Regions from separate parts of the Homo sapiens genome. Here region 1 is linked to region 2. The links are contacts of gene promoters, found by promoter capture Hi-C in blood cells and fetal thymus (Javierre and others, 2016). All regions are on one chromosome and are shown on one strand. The core of a region is centred on a gene start or on the middle of the fragment in contact, and the rest is flanking DNA. Distances in the headings are between cores, read along the strand shown. Region 1 has its middle 33 kb from the start of NEUROD2. Region 2 holds the start of ORMDL3 (ORMDL sphingolipid biosynthesis regulator 3).

Region 1 (3,405 bases), core at 745-3,244, 350 kb before region 2:
GGTTTCCGCCATCGCCGCCGCCGCCGCCGCCGCCGCCGGGCCGCGCCGGGCTCCGCTCCTCCGAACCGTCTGGCGGACTTGGCACCGGCCCCCGCTCCTCAGTGCCCCCGCAGTGCGTGGCAGGCTGCGGCTTCATTATCCTGATTGATTCCTCCTGCTCCCCGACACCATGGGGGCCCCGGACAAGGAAGGGAGGCGGAGGCGGCATCTGCAGGCCCCTTCCCCGGCCCTCGCCCCCAGCCGCTCCTCAGGCCACCCTGCTGTGGCTGGCCAGGCAGGGCGGGGATGGAGGACCGGCCCCGCCTCTGCTCTCTTGGTGGGCGGGGAGGGGAGGGCCCCAAGGGAGAGCGGAGCAGTGTCCGGTCGGTGCTCTTCCAAGGTTCCAGCTCTGGGCCGCGTACACCCTGCCTCGGCCCGCCCTCAGCAAAGATTTTGCGCCTTCTGAACCGGGAGGATATGGAAAGGTTGGGGTGGGGAAAGAACACAGTGGAGGACTGAGAACTTCAGGAAAACAAGCCCTGGTAAAACGGGAAAGGTGACATCTCTGAGGAGCGTTGGTCACGTGTGTCAAGGCCTGGTGACGCGTGTCTTATGTGCCTCCCTGGGCATCTTCTCAGTACAGTTCTCAGTAGAAGCAGGGGCAGGGTCTGGACCCAACCAACACAGGACACCCCGCAAGGATCTAAGCTTAAAGGAAGGCCAGGAGTCTGTGTGAGGGAGAGGACCTTTTCCCCAGAATCCAGCATGGTGTGCCCACCCCACGCCCAAACCAAGTACTGACACCTTAAAAAGAGCATCTGGGCCGGGTGCGGTGGCTCCCGCCTGTAATCCCAACACTTTGGGAGGCCGAGGCGGGCGGATCATGAGGTCAGGAGTTCGAGACCAGTCTGGCCAACATGGTGAAACCCCGCCTCTACTAAAAATACAAAAAAAAAAAATAGCTGGGCGTGGTGGCGGGCGCCTGTAATCCCAGCTACTCTGGAGGCTGAGGCAGGAGAATCGTTTGAACCCGGGAGGCAGAGGTTGCAATGAGCCAAGATTGCACCATTGCATTCCAGCCTGGGCAACAAGAGCAAAACTCCGTCTCAAAAAAAAAAAAAAAAAAAAAAAAAAAAAAAAAAAAAAAAAAGAGCATCTGGGGCCAGAACTGAGATTGGAGCATCTACTTAGTTCCGCCACTTGGTTTGTAGCCTGGGCAAGTCGCTTTACCTTTCTTAGCCATGGCTTATCCATCTATACAATAGGGATAAGCCAGTTGCCAATGACTAAATGGGATAATATGTAATGTGTAGATGGCAGGACCTTAAGTCCTCTGGCAAAAAGAAGAAAGGGAGATAAGGGGCTGACCTCTATCCCTGCTGCTGTTTTGGGTGGATACCTTGAGGGAGGTGAGTCTTCTCCATATGCTTAAATCCCTGCTTAACTGGAAGATTACCTCAAACCTTCCAGCCAAAGCCGCCCCATTGTCACAGTAGAGGGGCAAAACTGCTCTTTACCTCATTGGCATTGCACGGATTCAATATCTAGGTTTACACCAGGCTCTCTACTACTGTCCTTCTCTCCTTGGGTCCTCTCTTCCCACAATCCCTGACAGTCTCCCTCTCGTGCCTTGCCCCTGTCCTGTCCAAGGGCCAGACCTGGGAAGTTTCTTCCATAGACTCCAACCTTTGATCCCTCTCAGCCCTGGGAAAGAGGGAACTGGTGGAGAATTTGAGGCCGTTTAATGTATACCTGTCATGCTTGTGAATGTGATCTGAGCCTCTCTGGCAACTTCAGTGTCTATCTCAGGGCCTGTTTCCTCTTCTGTAAATTCATTATTCTTGCAACCCACATTGACTGGGTGACAACAGCAGGGCAGCATGGTGCACCCAGCAGGTTGGGAGTATGGAAAAAACACAGGATGGAAAGAACTCCACTGAGGCCGGGCTCGGTGGCTAATGCCTGTAATCCCAGGACTTTGGGAGGCCGAGGTGGGCAGATCGCCTGAGGTCAGGAGTTGAAGACCAGCCTGGCCAACATGGTGAAACCTCGTCTCTACTAAAAATACAAAAAGTAGCCAGGCATGGTGGTGCGCACCTGTAATCCCAGCTACTCAGGAGGCTGAGGCACGAGAATCACTTGAACCCGGGAGGCAGAGGTTGCAGAGAGCTGAGATCGTGCCACTGCACACTGCAGCCTGGGTGACAGAGTGAGACTCCATCTCAAGAAATAAAACCCCACTGTGAAACTACTGATCTGGGGACAACAGACCAATGCACACAGCAGGCTCTCCAATACTAGGGGTCGGTGCAGGGACACCTCCCAGATTCTAGAGCATTCCACAGTGTCATGATGCTTCCTCCTGTCCTTCCTGAGTACAGCAGACTCTTCCCCTAGACTTCTGTCAGAGGCTAATTCATTTCCTACGGGAAAAGACATCCTAAAATTTGAGTCTGGGGCTTTTGTTCATTCCCTTTTGTTGGAATTCCCTATTTTTACACCAGTCATCCAGTATCTTTATATTCAAAGGGAAAACACAATAAAAATACTTCCAGTTTGCCAGTAGCCAGAATCAGGTTAGCTCATGTATCTAGGTTTGCAAAGCTGCCCAGGACCTTTGTTCAGTGTGGCCCTGTGTGTGGCTGCCTTAGTCTACCCACTGGCCTGTCTGCCCACCCATCCCTGGCTGGCCTGCCCTATCTTCAGCGCCTATAGCCCTCAGCTCCACTTCCTATTAATACAAACCATGTGGGACCCTCACTGTGGCGTCTCCAGGCAAAAGATGAAGCCACAGCCGCCTAGTGGCTGCCAGGGAGGCTGGCAGGAAGGGGCATCTCTACCCGGCGTCTCCTGGGAAACAGCGAGCTCCCCAGAGAAGGGACATTTGGAAATAAAATTTCTGCCGTTGTGTGTCAATGTGTGTGTTGAGGCAGGAGAGGGAGTTAAGAAGCCTCCCCAGCCCCTCTGTTCCTTTCTCCTCAGGAAAAGCCTCTTGGAGCAACTCTCCCACTGCCTCCCAAAACTCCAGCCCCTTGTAGGCTCTCCTGGGACTGGACAAGTGGCTGAAAATGTTCCTTCAGATTCATGATGCAGGTGAAGAAGAGCACTGGACTGAGAGTCAGAGGCCCCAGTTCTGAGCTTCCTGACTTACCCCGTGGCTCTGGCCTGTTATACCTCCCTTTCTGAGTCCTAAGTTCCTCCTCTGTAAAATGAAATTTTTTCATCATTCCTGGTCTCTACATTGGGCCTCCTCCACAAAGTCCAGGAATATAGTTGGGGCATTCTAGGCCATTCTTTCCTATACTTAGGACAGATAACTAATAGAAGCTTATAATTCCTAGAGTGACCTTGACTCTAGGAATTCTACAGCGACCTTGAATGAGCCAGGGCCCTTCACCTGCCCATGCATTCATTCAGGCATTTGTA
Region 2 (3,515 bases), core at 1-2,500:
GAGATCAATAAACTAACAAAAAGACTGGCAATGAGGAAACACTCTTGAGACTTTCGTGTGACTATGGATACATATCACTTCCATTAGTAAAACAACCAACTGGCCCCTACCCTAGATGGGGAGAAACAGAGAGAAGAGGCTGGCAGAGGTCGACTAGGTCTACAGGAGTTGAGCCGAAAACTTCTGCTGCCATAGCTGGCAGGTGGCTGCTTAGTGCTGGGCCCTGATGTGGTTTCATAACCTGCCTCAAACCAGAGCCTGCAGCAACTCTGTTGTGTTAACCACTTTTTTGCTGGTAGCTCTTTCCCCCTCCTTCCCGCCCCACCCTCTTGGCTCCACATACAAATATCCGGGCCCAGCCAGTATGCCAGACACTCAAGCCAAGGCTGAGCACCACCAGGGCAGCCACCAGGTGAGCCCTTCCCATTCCCTCCCCCAGGAAAGAGCAGCCCTCACAACAGCAAACCTCCTGTCTTCTGGAAGAGGAGCACAAAACATCCAGGCCTGGATGGGGACCCCAACGGGGAGTCCGGGGCAGCACGTCACAATGCCATGTCCATTCCGCCCACCCCCCAAGCTGCAGGACCACAGCTGATAACCTCTCAACTTTGGCCCAGCCACCCCGACTGGGGGAGGGCGGTAGGAGCGGAAAGCGAGTGCCCAGGCGAACCCGCACTAAGCACAGGAGAGGAGGAGCGAAGAGGCGGAGTCCTCACTGTTGTTGGGGTTTTCTGAGTGAGACCTCGGGTGCGGGGCCGGGGGGAGGGGTCCCGCTCTGTTCCCCAGCCTGGGTCTTCGCACTCGGAACCCGGTCCGGTCCGGGACCCCACAGCCATCTCCACGCGTTCACCCAGCCCTGGAGGCAGCCAAACGTTTATCCCCGAAGCCGAGCCGCTCCCCGCCTCCCACCCCTAGCCGAGGCGCTCCTCCCGACGTTCCACCCCCGGCCTCCCGCTCGCACTTTATTCCTTGGCCACCTCCCCAGCCGATGCACCCCCTCGGCTGATGCACTCCCTCCACCCCCCACTCCCTCTGCCCCCGTCTCTCCAGCCCGGGGCGCCTCCCCAGCAGCCCCCACCTTCTCTCCCGCCCCTCCCGTAGCCCTGGGGCCTCTTGGTTCCTTCCGGGCTCACCGTGTGGGGCCGAAGATCAACGGCCCGGGAACGGTTCCCGGGAGCGGGGGCCGCTGCTGCTCCAGCAGCTGTAACAACCCGCGGCTGCAGCCTCCCCGCTGGCAGCTCCGGCCGAATCAGCGCTCCGCGCCGGTCCCCGTACGTCACCGCCCCGCGCCGGCACGCCCGACGCCTTCTGGGAGTTGTAGTTTCTTCCGCTGGCTCCGGGCCGGCCCTCCCGACGCCTCCTGGGAGTTGTAGTTTTTCCTGGGCTCCGTTCCCGGCCTCTTCGGGGACGCACGGTTGGAAGTTGTACCGTGACGTGATGGTCAGATCGGATGATAGAATTTTGGTGCGTAACAATTCCAACTTTTGCTTCTGTGCCCTTCAAGTGTATTTTATCCGTGCCCCAGTTTTGCAGATGAGGAGACTCGGACTTGTAAGTAACTTTCTGTAGGTCTTTGCTGGGTCCTAGACTGGATCGAAACCCAAATATTCTGACCCCAACTGCAGGATTTTTCCACTGCACCTGGCTGCCTCCGCCCTGGCCCCAGATTGGCTCCTCCAGAAACAGACTAGCCCGGCCCTTTGCCCTGCTGGGCCCTCCTGGGAGAGCGCTTTTCACAACATTGGCTGGGATGAGGGTCTGGAGGGCCCGGAACGGAGCCTGCCTTCTCCTTCTCAGTCACGCTTGGCCCAGGCTGCCCCGGACCGGGCCACATCCTTGGCCGCCCCGCACCTGACGTGAGAAGAGGCTACGTATCATAGATTCCTCCATCAGTAGTAAGGAGCCTGAGTTTCTGTCTCAGGTCAGCTTGTGTGGCTTTGAATGAGAGGCTCTGGTCTGCAGTTTTCACATCTGCATCGTCTAAAGGCAAGGGCACAGACTTTACTGCCTGGTAGACATGGGGTAGGCCCTCCTTTATTGGCAGTGTGACCCTGGGCAAATTACTTGTCTTAATCTCCAATTCCACACCTGTGAAACCCCACCTCCAAGGTTGTGGGAACCCAAAAGAATGTATGTAAAGCACCTGTTGCATTGTAGGAATCTACTTAATATTACTGTAGGAGGTTGAACTAAATGGCTCTTGAGGTCTCCTCGGTTACTCCCATTCTCCATGTCACCAAGAGGTCTTGTCTGGGTAGTTTCAACTCCTTACCCAGCTTCTTTCTAAGTCCACTCTATGCAGGGCAGGGCTGGAATAGCAAGGTCAGATGATGTCATGGCATGCCAACCTGACTCTGAATGGCAGTTCATGGCACCCTGAACTGAAAGTGAGGGAACAGGAAGGAAAAGGCTAGCCCAGGGAAACTGCGGAGCACTTTACTCGGACTACACCTACCTTTCCTTCCCCAGGGGGCTGCCAGGAAACAGTTGTCACACAGCTGGAGTGGGACCCCCAGAGGCACTTAGTGGTCACCAGGCAGGTGGGTATTTGAACCACCCAGAGCAGAACAGGCAGCTTCTTCAATATTTCCAGGGCCAATGGCCCCAAAAGGGCTCATTCCAAGATCGAAATAATCATCTGAGTCTGAAATAGCTCTGCCTATGTCCTGTGGAAGTTTCTCCTGGTTTGTGGAGGTGCCTTTCCTTATAGTCATCTTTCTGCAGACATAAGCAAACCCAGTGTTGTTCTTTTCACAGAAACCTCCCCAGCATTAAGGCAAGAAAGGTGTCTCTGTTTTTTCCGAAGTGTGCCTGCTTGACTCCTTTGATTTTTCTCTGGGATTCTTCATCCTCCATCAAGTTGATCGATCCCTCTGGATCTTGGTCAGTTTCCTGACATCTCTATGAAGTTCAGTGACCCAGACTGAGTCCACGTCTCAAATAAGGTTCTGACTAATGCAGAGTCTAACAGAAAGATTACTGAACATGTCATGCACTATTAATAACTCCTGTTATCGAGGATTTTTTTTTCACAATAGGAATGAACAGAGTTCTGACTCACTCTAGGTTTGTGGTAAATTGCAGATCACTTTCTGCTTTATTTAGCGGGAGTCCCTGTTGTCATCTTTCTCCTTCTCTCTTGGCCCTCATAATTATCATATCTTCCCCAAACGTTCTTCAGCTGTGAATAGCCCTAAGCACTATTCAGAGTGAGTGACAGCTCTCTTATTTCGTGCTGGGGGACATACAAACCCTTGGACAAACACTTGTCACTGTGTGCCAAGAAGCTGAAAAATTCTTCTTGCCTCAGAGCCATAATTACACTTTTGGTAGCATATTCTAAGGAAGTCATCCCATGTACAGGAAAAGCTGCAATGTGTCAGGATGTTCATTCCAGCAATATTTATAGTAGTGAAAAACTGAAAGCAACCAAATGCCCAAGAAAAAAATTACAGTATATCCACTGGATGGAATAGTATGAAGCCATTTAGGACAGATTGTGAAAACCCTGTGGC

The links. The method cuts DNA at HindIII sites, captures the fragments that hold promoters and counts their contacts. A CHiCAGO score of 5 or more calls a contact.
Region 1: a contact is called between a fragment that was not itself captured here and the fragment with the promoter of ORMDL3 in region 2, in 1 of 17 cell types (total B cells). The highest score is 5.1, in total B cells.

Annotation. Positions count from the first base shown.
Region 1 is chr17:39,573,614-39,577,018 of GRCh38, forward strand. No RefSeq gene overlaps it. Among named protein-coding and RNA genes, the nearest start is that of NEUROD2, 33 kb to the right of the region's middle. RefSeq lists a silencer at 8-277 and an enhancer at 943-1,517. The HindIII fragment of the contact is 2,619 bases long and covers 686-3,304 here.
Region 2 is chr17:39,926,351-39,929,865 of GRCh38, forward strand. It overlaps ORMDL3 (ORMDL sphingolipid biosynthesis regulator 3), which reads right to left and starts at 1,251. Exons shown (of 4, transcript NM_139280.4): 1 at 1,134-1,251. LRRC3C (leucine rich repeat containing 3C) reads left to right here and starts at 1,382. Exons shown (of 4, transcript NM_001195545.2): 1 at 1,382-1,464. LOC124903999 (a long non-coding RNA gene) reads left to right here and starts at 370. Exons shown (of 2, transcript XR_007065750.1): 1 at 370-412; 2 at 578-652. RefSeq lists enhancers at 505-1,115, 1,116-1,727. The HindIII fragment of the contact is 24,326 bases long and covers 1-3,515 here.